Linked DNA regions of Homo sapiens: region 2 is linked to region 1. The links are contacts of gene promoters, found by promoter capture Hi-C in blood cells and fetal thymus (Javierre and others, 2016). All regions are on one chromosome and are shown on one strand. Each heading gives the region's core, a stretch centred on a gene start or on the middle of the fragment in contact. The rest is flanking DNA. Distances are from core to core; before and after follow the strand shown.

Evidence for each region. The method cuts DNA at HindIII sites, captures the fragments that hold promoters and counts their contacts. A CHiCAGO score of 5 or more calls a contact.
Region 2: a contact is called between the fragment with the promoter of LEMD1-AS1 here and a fragment that was not itself captured in region 1, in 1 of 17 cell types (naive B cells). The highest score is 5.1, in naive B cells.

Annotation. Positions count from the first base shown.
Region 1 is chr1:205,643,540-205,649,535 of GRCh38, reverse strand. No RefSeq gene overlaps it. Among named protein-coding and RNA genes, the nearest start is that of ELK4, 15 kb to the right of the region's middle. The HindIII fragment of the contact is 8,490 bases long and covers 1-5,996 here.
Region 2 is chr1:205,371,008-205,377,003 of GRCh38, reverse strand. It overlaps LEMD1-AS1 (LEMD1 antisense RNA 1), which reads right to left and starts at 3,752. Exons shown (of 4, transcript NR_038425.1): 1 at 3,570-3,752. LOC105371698 (a long non-coding RNA gene) reads left to right here. Exons shown (of 3, transcript XR_922462.2): 3 at 1-94. RefSeq lists silencers at 489-783, 4,329-4,623. The HindIII fragment of the contact is 1,416 bases long and covers 3,551-4,966 here.

The DNA of each region.
Region 1 (5,996 bases), core at 2,101-4,600:
CTTTCGGAGGCCAAGGTGGGCAGATTGCTTGAGCTCAGGAGTTCGAGACCAGCCTGGGCAACATGGCGAAACCTTGTCTCTACAAAACAATACAAAAAATTAGCTGGGCTTGGTGGTGTGCACCTGTGGTCCCAGCCGCTGGGGAGGCTGAGGCAGGAGAATCACAACCCAGGAGGTGGAGGTTGCAGTGAGCCGGGATCATGCCACTATACTCCAGCCTGGATGACAGAGCAAAACTTCGTCTCAAAAAAATAAATAAATATCTGGGACCACTAAACCAGCTCACAGGCAATTGGGGCCTTGTATTGGTAGTTTCTTGATTTTAAATCACATTCCTCATAGAAACATCAACTTGCTAAGAAGAACAGAAGTGAGGAGAGAATCAGGAAGAAGGGAGACTCTAGAAAGCAAGTGGGAAACTGCAAGTAGCCTCAGAAATGTCATGTTTACTGAGGTCTCTCCACCTGGGGTCTAAGACAAGTGCAATCTGGCCCTTGCCCTTAAGGACCACTTAATTTAGGTGGAAAAGAAAAAGCAGGTGTGAGTCAACCATGCATAGACGTGTCAGGGAGGATGAAAGCAGAAAACGCAGAACGTGAGCCACAAATAGAGTTTAGAGGAGGGAGGTCCATGATTACTCCTGATGGGAGAGGAGGAGGGAGCAGCCCTCACTGCCCCATCATGCTGGGTTCTGCCCATCTCCCAGAGGTGGGTGGAGCCCTGGGTTCTGGCCTGCATTTGAGGCTGGGAATTGAAGAGAAGGGGGCAGGAGGGGTACTGGATGGGCAATGTCCCATCCTTCACACATTTCGTGGGTTTTCCCTTCTGGCCTGGGGTATCCCTCCCTGCAGAGCCAGTTACAGAGAGATGGGGCAGTGGGCAGCCAGCGTAGGGGTGGGGAATATCTCCCAGGGAGCTTGGATCTCAGGTTACTCCTGGTGCTGCTGGGGAAAAAGCCCTTGGTTTCCAGGCTCAGATCTGATTACAGCAGCCTGACGGTTTTATCACCCTTGGCAGAAGGACTGTTTAGAGCTGGGACTTTCTGGCACCCAATACTGTCACTAGATCTCCATGCACATTAGGGGCAGCTTGCCCTGTGACAGAAGCACTTGGCCCCATTCTGCCCCCTAGTAGCATTTGACCTTGGACAAGTTACTGTCCTACTGTGTGAACAAGTGAGGGTGTTAACAGATCATTTTATTTTATTTTATTTTATTTTATTTTATTTTATTTTATTTTATTTTATTTTATTTTATTTTATTTTATTTTATTTTTTTGAGACGGCGTCTCCCTCTGTCGCCCAGCCTGGAGTGCAGTGGTGCGATCTCGGCTCACTGCAAGCTCCGCCTCCTGGGTTCACACCATTCTCCTGCCTCCGGAGTAGCTGGGACTACTGCCACCACGCCTGGCTAATTTTTTGTATTTTTAGTAGAGACGGGGTTTCACTGTGTTAGCCAGGATGGTCTCGATCTCCTGACCTCGTGATCCACCCGCCTCAGCCTCCCAAAGTGCTGGGATTACAGACCCAACTCTAGAATTCCAGGACCTCACTCTGTACCCCCCTCCCCCAATTGACTGTTTAGTATTTGACAGTCCCTAGTTAATGCACTCTCCTTCTTTCCATCAAGTAGTATCTGTCTACCTTCCTGTATGCTGAGCCTCATGTTAGTTCTGGGGCTGTGGCAATGAAAGACACACTGGCAGCCCAGATTTGGCACCGAGGAGGCAGACAGGGAGCAGCTGCCTGCCTGCTGAGGGACCTGATCCTGGAGAGGCTCTAGACCCAGAGAACACGGCACTGCCTGACCTCTTCTCAGTGATTTTATTACAGTGATGGGTGAAGAGTGTGGAGGCGGCTGCTACAGACTGTGCTCCTCCCCAGATTATGCTGAAACCTAACCCCCAGTGTGATGGCATTGGAAGTGGAGCCTTTGGGAGGCAATTAGGTCATGAGGGTGGAAGCCCTCATCAATAGGATTGGTGCCCTTTTAAAAGAGTTCTCTTGCCCCTTCTGCCATGTGAGGACACAGCGAGAAGATGGCCTCTATGAGCCAGGAAGCAGGCCCTCAGCAGACACTCAATCTGCCACAGCCTTGACCTTGGACTTCCCAGGCCCCAGGACTGTGAGGAATAAATACCCATTGTTTATAAGCCACCTAGTCTACGGAATTTTTTTCTTTTTTTTTTTTAGACAGAATCTCGCTCTATCGCCCAGGCTGGAGTGCAGTGGTGCTATCTCAGCTCACTGCAAGCTCCGCCTACTGGGTTCACACCATTCTTCTGCCTCAGCCTCCTGAATAGCTGGGACTACAGGTGCCCGCCACCACGCCCGGCTAATTTTTTTTGTGTATTTTTTTTAGTAGTGACGGGGTTTCACCGTGTTAGCCAGGATGGTCTCGATCTCCTGACCTCGTGATCCACCCGCCTTGGCCTCCCGAAGTGCTGGGATTACAGGCGTGAGCCACCGTGCCCAGCTATGGTATTTTGTTATAGCAGTTCAAGCTGACTAAGACAGTGAGGCGAACCCTGTTATCTTGCTTTCAGTGATAAAACTGGAGCCTGCTAAGGTGGTGTGACCTGCCCAAGGGCACACTGGTTCAGGGTTATTTTTCTTCTACCATCACCAATTTTCAAAGGTGGAGGTGAGGCTGTATAGGAAACCTTTGCATTATCTTTGCAGCTGTCCTGTAACTCTAATATTCCAAAATAAAAAGGTGTTTTTTTTTTAAGTGGAGGACTTTTGACCCGTCTCCTCACCTTCTGATACACACCAACCAACCAGTCAACCAGCCATTGCTGTTTACTGGATACCTGGTAGGTATAAGGCACCATGGTACGTACAACTATGGGGTGGGTATGAAGATGTCTAAAATGCTATCATTGCTCTCTTTGAGTTCTCAGTTTTCCCTGTGGGAAAATAAGACATGTTCAAGTGAAAAGTCCTTTTTTTGGTAATTTTTATTTTATGATTATTCTTTTTTTTATTTATTAGAGATGTGGTCTCACTATGTTGCCCAGGCTGGTCTCAAACTCCTGGCCTCAAGTCATCCTGTGGCCTCGGCCTGCCAGAGTTTTGGGATTACAGGCATGAGCCACCGAGCCTGGCCAGGAAAGTTATTTCTAACAGCACAAGACTGTTTGATAACTGCCAATAGGTACTGAGGTACAAAGTTGGGGGAAGTGGAGAGAAATGACCACTAGAAGGTTGTTTTTAAAATAGGAATAAAAATGATGATTTCCTGGCCGGGCACAGTGGCTCACGCCTGTAATCCCAGCACTTTGGGAGGCTGAGGCAGGTGGATCACCTGGGGTCAGGAGTTCAAGACCAGCCTGGCCAACATGGTGAAACCCTGTCTCTACAAAAAAAAAAAAAAAAGTTAGCTGGGGTGGTGGCGGGCACCTATAATCCCAGCTACTCAGGAGGCTGAAGCAGGAGAATGGCTTGAACCTGGAAGGCAGAGGTTGCAGTGAGCTATGATGGCACCACTGCACTTCAGCCTGGGTGACAGAGCAAGACTCCAACTCAAAAAAAAAAAAAAAAGATTTCCTTGTATGAAACAGCTGCAGAATGTTTTTGACATAATGAACTCTTGAAAGATGTGAGCACTTCAATTGATTGTACATATATTTTCCTAGCCTTCATGCATTAGCCATTAAAAAAAACCCACTAAGTCTTATTGATTTTATCTCCTACCTATCCCTCACATTGATTTTCTCATTGCCATCCTCACTGCTACTGTCATGGTTGGGCCCTTAGCATCTCTTTCTGGACTCACACATGAACCCATCCCTCTTCCTTTCTCCAGTCCCGCCTGTCCCTCCGCTGGGTCCATGCCTGTACTACAGCCTGGGTTATCTGGCCGGAGCACTGAGCTGACTACCTCATGCTTGGGCTGGCGGAGGACCCTCAGGAGACTCACGTTTCTGCATGCGACAAACAAGCCCCTTCACGTGTGGCTTTGTACACCTCTTTATCCCCTTTGCCCACCGCCTCAGCTCTCCCAGCCCCTCAAATCCTGCTTCAGCCATGATGACCTGCTTCCCTCCATTCAAGCAAACTTTGCTCTGTTGAGCCTCAGTGCCTTTGCTGTTGGCTGCATTCTCTTCATGGAGAGCTCTCTGCCTACTGAATTTGTATTTATTCTCCAACACTCAGCTTAAACATTTCTTTCTATGGCCTCTGAAGTTAATCACTCCTGCCTCAGTCTCCTTATAGCATACTGCTACTGTGGTCCTTATGTTCACTGGGCAGAAATTTGTTTGACTTCATCATCTGCTAAGTCTTTCCACATTTATTAAGCAACTACCACGTGCTGGGGCTGCGACACGGTGAAGAGACAGATGCAGTCTTTGTCCTCTTGGATGTCCCCAAGCAGTGAGGGGGCTGGAGATATGCAGAAGCAATTATAGAATGTGTCACAGTGCTGTGATGGGGGTGTGCCTGGAGGGGCCCAGTCTCAGAGGGGCCCTGGGGGATCAGAGAGGGCTTCCTAGGAGAAACGATGCTTGTTTTTTGTTTTTTAAAGACAGAGTCTTGCTCTTTCGCTCAGGCTGGAGTGAAGTGACTCTATCTCAGCTCACTGCAACCTCAGCTCCCCACCCCAGGTTGAAGCATTTCTCCTGCCTCAGCCTCCCCAGTACCTGGGATTATAGGCACGTGCCACCACGCCTGGCTAATTTTTGTATTTTTTTTAGTAGAGATGGGGTTTCACCATGTTGGCCAGACTGGTCTCAAACTTCTGACCTCAGGTGATCTGCCCACCTCGGCCTCCCGAAGTGCTAGGATTACAGGTGTGAGCCACTACGCCCAGCCATGATACTAAATTGATTTCTGAAGCCCAGGCAAGAATTTGCAATCTGGTCCTCCACCAAGATCTTCCAGGGAAAAGCTGCATCTTATTCATTGTTGTGTTGCCCCCACTCTAGCTCTGTGTTTACACATAGTAGGTGCTCATTACATTTGCTTGTTTGTTTAAATGAATTATTGGGCAAACAAAATGAATGGGCAAATGAAAACTGTATTTCTTTTGGGCAAGTGGACAACCTCAGCTTAACGCTCCAGCTTCTAATATCAGGTGGCTGGGCCTAAGATAAAAGTTGTGTTTTACTTTTGCGTATCATGTGGTTTACTGCAGTACTTTTTTTTGACCTTTAGATTCAGTTTAGTAATACTCTATGAATGATGAGTGGTTTCACAGTTTTTCAGATGAGTTTGTGGCTTTTGTTTCAGTGTGCTATAAAAAGAATAATTTTATTTAATTTATGAATATCTAGTAATTTTATAAGTAATATTTTCCTAAAAATCCTTTTAAATTTTCTTTTTCTTCTTTTATTTTTTTGAGACAGAGTTTTCACTCTGTCACCCAGGCTGGAATGCAGTGGTGTGATCTGGGCTCACTGCAATCTCTGCCTCCTGGGTTCAAGCCATTCTCCGGCCTCAGCCTCCCGAATAGCTGGAATTACAGGCATGTACCACCATGCCCAGCTAATTTTTGTATTTTTAGTAGAGATGGGGTTTCACCAAGTTGTTCAGGCTTGTCTCGAACTCCTGACCTGAAGTGATCTGCCTGCCTTGGCCTCCCAAAGTGCTGGGATTATAGGCGTGAGCCACCGCGCTTGGCTTAAAATTTTCTTAATGTTAAAAAAAAAAAAAAAATAGCTGGGCGCAGTGGCTCACGCCTGTAATCCCAGTACTTTGGGAGGCCGAGGCAGGCGGATCACCTGAGGTCAGGAGTTCGACACCAGCCTGGCCAACAATGGTGAAACCCCGTCTCTACTAAAAATACAAAAATTAGCTGGGTGCGGTGGCAGGTGCCTGTTATCCCAGCTACTCAGGGAACTGAGGCAAGAGAATCGCTTGAACTTGGGAGGTGAAGGTTGCAGTGAGCCGAGACCGCACCATTGCACTCCAGCCTGGGCGACAAGAGTGAAACTCCATCTTAAAAAAAAGATGTGAATGGCAGTGGAAAGAAATTGTAGGAATTGTGGGCAGGGGT
Region 2 (5,996 bases), core at 2,503-5,002, 270 kb after region 1:
TCACCATCTATTCAACAGTCGATTAGCACCTCTTGTTCCCTTGCAATAAAATGACAAATAAAACCAGCCAGGCACAGTGACTCACATCTGTAATCCTAGCGCTTTGGTAGGCAGAGGTGGGAGGATCACTTGAGGCTGGGAGTTGAAGACCAACCTAAGCAACATAGCAAGACTGTCTCTACGAAAAAAATAAAGAAGAAGAAGAAAAGAAAAATTAGCTACTCAGGAGGCTGAGCCCAGAGGATCACTTGGGCCCAGGATTTCAAGGAGGCTGCAGTGAGCTATTATTGTGCCACTGCACTCCCCCTGGGTGACAGAGCAAGACCCTGTCTCTAAAAAAAAATTTTTTTAATCAGTATAGGATATAGTTCCTGCTCTTAAGGAACACACAGTCTGACAGGAGAGATGGAAAAGTCAACAGATAGTACGGTGTTAAGTGACATCCTTTTGATGATGGCATAGGGTACCCTGGAAGCACAAAAGAGCAACCTTCTCCTATATTGGGAATAGACAGGGGTAGCTTCCTAGAAAAAGTGGTATCACAGCTGAAGCCAGAAGGATGAGTAGGACTCAGTCCAAATAAGGGAAAAGTGGGCGAGGCTAAAGGAAAAGTCTGCCAGGCGAGGGAGCAGTATTTACAAAGACTAGTGTGTGAGAGACTGCATGGCAGGTTTAGGAAGCCACAAGAGAGTGAAGCGGGTGGGGAGAGATGCGGCTGGAAAAGAAGGTGGGATTCAGATCATAGAGGGTCTTGGGACCATAGGAAGGAAAATATGGTCTATGTTAAAGTTTGAACTTTAATGGAAGCCAATGCATAAGAAAAGTAACTCTTCTAAGGACTAACAGTGTCTGCCTCCCTGAATGTCTTCCGTGTCAGTTGCCACAGCCCCCTGAATGAGAGCTGGAGAGACAGGCTTCTAAGGAGGGGCCAAACCAAGGAGCTGTGTGCTGAATCCCTTGAGGGACTTGGGACAGGGGAGAGGCAGGTCAGTTTGCAGTGTATTGGCAGCAACAGATGTGGGCAGCCCAATGTGGGTGCCTTTGATACGGGCAGTGAATGGGGCAATGCTACTGGAGCAAAAGCAGCAGAGAAGGAATAATGAGGTGCTGGCTGGTGGCTGAGATAGCTTTGTGGGGCTCCCAGGGAGAACAGAATTGTGGCTGCAATTGCCCAGTGCAAATAGATAGGACAGGGGAATCGGGGGTGAAGAGGAACAGTTAAAACCTCTCTGCTTAGAAAACTCTAAGAATGCACTTGCCCTGTTTTTTGAGTATTTGTGATGTGACCCAAGTGTTTTATGATTCTTTTTTTTTTTTTTTTTTGAAACAGAGTCTCACTCTGTCACCCAGGCTGGAGTGCAGTGGCACGATCTCAGCTCACTGCAACCTCCGCCTCCCAGGTTCAAGTGATTCTCCTGCCTCAGCCTCCCAAGTAGCTGGGATTACAGGAACGCACCACCGCACCCAGCTGATTTTTGTATTTTTAGTAGAGATATGGTTTCTCCATGTTGCCCTGGCTGGTCTTGAACTCTTGACCTCAGGTGATCCACCTGCCTCGGCCTTCCAAAGTGCTGGGATTACAGGTGTGAGCCACTGCACCCAGTTCATGATCTTCTTTTTAAGGCTCACCTTTCCCTGGTAATTTGGGGAAAATAGGTCCAGGGAGTGGAGGCTGACTGACATCCCAGGATCACTGCCATCAAGCTGACCTCCGCAGAGAGCTGATGCAGGCCAGGCCAATTCTCCCACTGCTGCCCTGTCCCTACATTCTCCACAATACAGTGACACAGGCTGTGTAACAGGCTTTTCTGACATTTTAGATGGAAGGGAAAATGTATATGAAATTGAAATGTGGGGAGGGAAGAACCTTAACACCAAACGCTAAATGAATCATTCCCAGAATCCTAGGAAAATGAAAAGTGCTAACCCCATTAAAAGTGCATTGAAGTGGCTAGCTTTGCTTTCTGCTTCAGGATTCATCGTTTTCCAAGGGCCCCACCTTTAATCCTTCAGAGTGATTCTCCACCCTGAGACCCGCTTACAGGGCACAGTTATACCTCCCTCCCAGTGACTCACAATGATTCAGACGTAGTGCTGGTCTCAGACACAATCCTGCCTGAATCTATATAAAGAAAGAGAAAAATCTCCCTCACTCCACAACAGCATACTATGCCAAGATTTCTCCTGCTTCCAACGTGCAGAGTGTATTTGTTTGTTTTCAAATCTTATGCTTTGTTCTGTTTCTGCAGTTTCTAGAGCACAGCTGGGGACCTGGTACGTAAAAAACCGGCCTTACCTCAGTGCCTTCTCCAACAGCAGAGTCATTGACCCACCCCTATCCCAGCTATACAAGGACCCATGATCTTGAGATTTTCTTGACCTTGGGCCAAATCAAATTCCAAGGCAGGGCTCTAGTCTCAGCAATAGGAAGAGAATTAGTCTAGAGACTGATTTCTTCTTGTCAAGAGCAAACTCCTTGCCAGCGAGGTGTTTTATTTTTTCAATTTCAATGACTCGTCTGCCTCCCCTACAAATCTTGGAGCTCCTTGTGTCGAGGACTGTATCTTAATCATCTCTGGATCTCCTCTCGAAGTGATGTCTGTGCTACCTCCAGAAAGAGCCCATTTCCATTTTGAGCAGTTTCCAACTCAAATAGACATTTGAAACCACAAAACCAATACCCCAGATTTTGCTTCCTGTTTATCCCTGTGATGAGAAGTCCCTAAAATGAGCAAACTGCTGTTGAAAGGCATTCCCAATCAACCTCATTATGCAGTGTTTAGCCTTCTAACACACTGTCATTCCCACGGCATCCAAAGTCCTCATTCCTATAAATGTCACTATTTACAGCAGGGTCAATCCTGCCACCCAGCAAAGGTGTTCTCCATCCCATGGCCAAACAATGAAGTGGAGCCCTGGCTGGAGAAACAGGATTGAGCTAATTGCATGTCACACAGACACACTGGATTTCACAGGCTTGTGTTCTACAGATGGGGCGATGAGGCCAATTCTATTGCATGCATGCTGTTTAAATCTCTACCCAGTCAATATTCAGGGTGGCAGATGGAAGAAATTCTTAAAGGCTCTATTTCTGTTCTTCGACATTCAAAGAAATACTGTGCTACCACCTCTTAAAAATAATTGGTTAAGTACCAAGTTATTTTCATTGCCACAGTCATAAATAAAGAAGTGCTAGACCACAATGTTTATATCTATAGTAGTTGATAATCTTACATGCAAGAAAAATGATTGTTGATGTTTAGGAGGTTGTTTTTCTTGCTTTTTTTCCTCCCTTCCTTTCCTCCCCTACCCCTACCTCCCAGCCAAGAAAAGTCTTGTTGATTAGAGTAACAAGAAGGGGCTGATTTGGAAGTAAAATTAAACTTGACTCTTTCCTGAAGCAAGAACGTAATCTCAAGACTAAAATAAGAAAGTGCCTAACCAACTTGGCATTTTATTCTGAGGAAGATTCCCGATAGAAACTTGGATGGAAGAAAATGAAAGGGAAGCCAATTAGCCTGTGTTAAGCAATGCTAACTTTTAACAAGCTTGCTCAAGAAGAAATGAACCTGTTAAGAGGGTCATCCAGGGCTTCCTTGCCGCCTCGGTGCACAGCTCAATCATGCTTCCTTCTTGTTCATTTTGACAAAGCAGGTGAGTGATGAGCAGGAAAAAATTATGAGGAGGTGTTGGAGCAACTCGCTAATCAGCACTGCTACAAGATCGCCAGCATTTACAGGACCGCATTCACTGAGAAATGATGGCTGCTATGAATGTTCTCGTTTGTGGGCGTCACCTAAACACAACCCTGCCTAATGAATCAATCTCTGGAGAGCCAGAGGGGGCTATTCTAGGTACTGCAGATGTGGATGAGGACAGCTCTCCTCATTTCCTGGCAACAGGAGACTGGTGTGACAACTCTAATTCCTGGAGAGCCATTGGTAAAATCCTCCTTGGGTTCAAGAGTTAGCTAAAAATATGTGGAGGGGAAAGGATGAGTTTGTCCTTTTTTTTTTTTTTTTTTTTTTTTTTTTTTAGTTTATTGCTACTGGGTTTTTTTAAATTTGTCTCTTGAAGGAGAATGGATTATTAATGTTCATTACTGTTCTGATTAGGAGGCAGCCTTTTTCCCTTCCCAGATTAATGTTGGGCAACCCTTCAAATTGGCAGAGAGAAGGGTAACTCCACAACCTGTATGAACAGGGATGGCTTTGCTGCTGTGAAGAACATGTTGCTCTCACTTGCATTACTAGAAAAGAAAGGTGAGATCTGGTCTAAGAAGGGCTGAGGCAGAAATTTAAAAATAAATATGCATTAATTCACTCCGAGAAAAGTAACAGGCAAGGCAAGGGTTAAAAAGAAAAGAAGCAAGTTTTCCTCTGCTTAGCAGCTCACTTCAAGGACAGTTATAAGATAAGGCTGTCCGAAAAGCCAAGGCCAAAGGAATGGGCTCCAGACACCCACTCCTTCCTCCAGAGCAAGGTTGAAAGGAAAAAAAAGAAAGACAAATTCCTTTACTGTTACTCCTTTCCCTGGCTTCTTAAGCATAACTATGTTTTACAAATGTCTGTATTTAGCTAGTTCTTGTTTTTCTTTTGTCTCAGCTACAAGGCCACCAGCTATGCAAGGCCACAAGTTATGCACTATATGGTTAACTGCCTTTGTTTTGCTTTTGTAAGCCCGCTTATAAAAACCCCGCTCTGTCTTTGTTCAATGCTCAGCTTTTTGGATGTGAATCCACTGAGCCGGTGCATATCTTAAAATAAATATCCTCCTGTTCTGCCATATCGGTCTCTCCATTCCTCAGTTTACCTCAACGGGGCAACGTTAGGGAGAGTGTCCTAAGCAGAAGATCCAGGATCCAATTCTACCTCTGCCCTGGCAGGCTCCCGTGGGGCCTCAGCTTCCTCATCTGTAAAATGAGCACTAGAATGATCTGAGCCAGAAACTATGCAATGGGGAAGCTTAAAGACATTACGTTAAGTGAAATAAGCCAGTCAGAAAAGGACAAATACTGTATGATTCCATTTACATGAGCTACCTGGAGTAGTCGGATTCACAGAGATAGAAAGCAGAATGGTGTTGCCGGAGCTGGAGACTGTGGGGAATGGGGAGTTACTGTTTAATGGGTACAGAATATCCATTTTGGAGAATGAAAAAAGTTCTAAGATGGATGGTGGTGATGGCTGCACAGCAGCATGTATGTGCTTAGTGCCACTGAACTGTACCCTTAAAAATGGTTACAATGGTAAATTTTGTTATGTATATTTTACCACTATTTTTTTGAGACGGAGTTTCCCTCTTGTTGCCCAGGCTGGAGTGCAATGGTGTGATCTCGGCTCACCGCAACCTCCGCTTCCCAGGTTCAAGTGATTCTCCTGCCTCAGCCTCCTGAGTAGCTGGGATTACAGGCATGCACCACCATGCCCGGCTAATTTTGTATTTTTAATAGAGATGGGGTTTCTCCATGTTGGCCAGGCTGGTCTCAAACTCCCGACCTCAGGTGATCCGCCTGCCTCAGCCTCCCAAAGTGCTGGGATTATAGGCGTGAGCCACTGTGCCTGGCCTTTCACAATATATATTATAAAATAAACTAAGCAACTATCCACAACATTCACCCAAAGTATCAGGAGTCTCAAATTCAAGCACCCATGGGGGTCAGGCCATTTGTATGAGTGAGCCCACGGTCTTGCCTAGCGTACAGAGGAGGTAGTAGCTCCCAGCCCAGCCAAACCATCCATGCAGGAATGTGATCAGACTTTTCAAGAGGAAGGGAATATTCTGGATATTTATGTGAAATGTCTTAATTATTTAAATTGGCAACTAATTCAAAATTTTAAAAAGCAACAAACTGTGGGCAAACAAAATACATCTGCAGGTGAGATTCTGTTTTCTGCCTCTCTGTAGGTAACCAGTCTGTAGCATCTACTTTTTTTTCTTCTTTGTTTGCCAGCATTCCCACCCCCACATATCTCCCTTAATAACAGGTTCTGGCC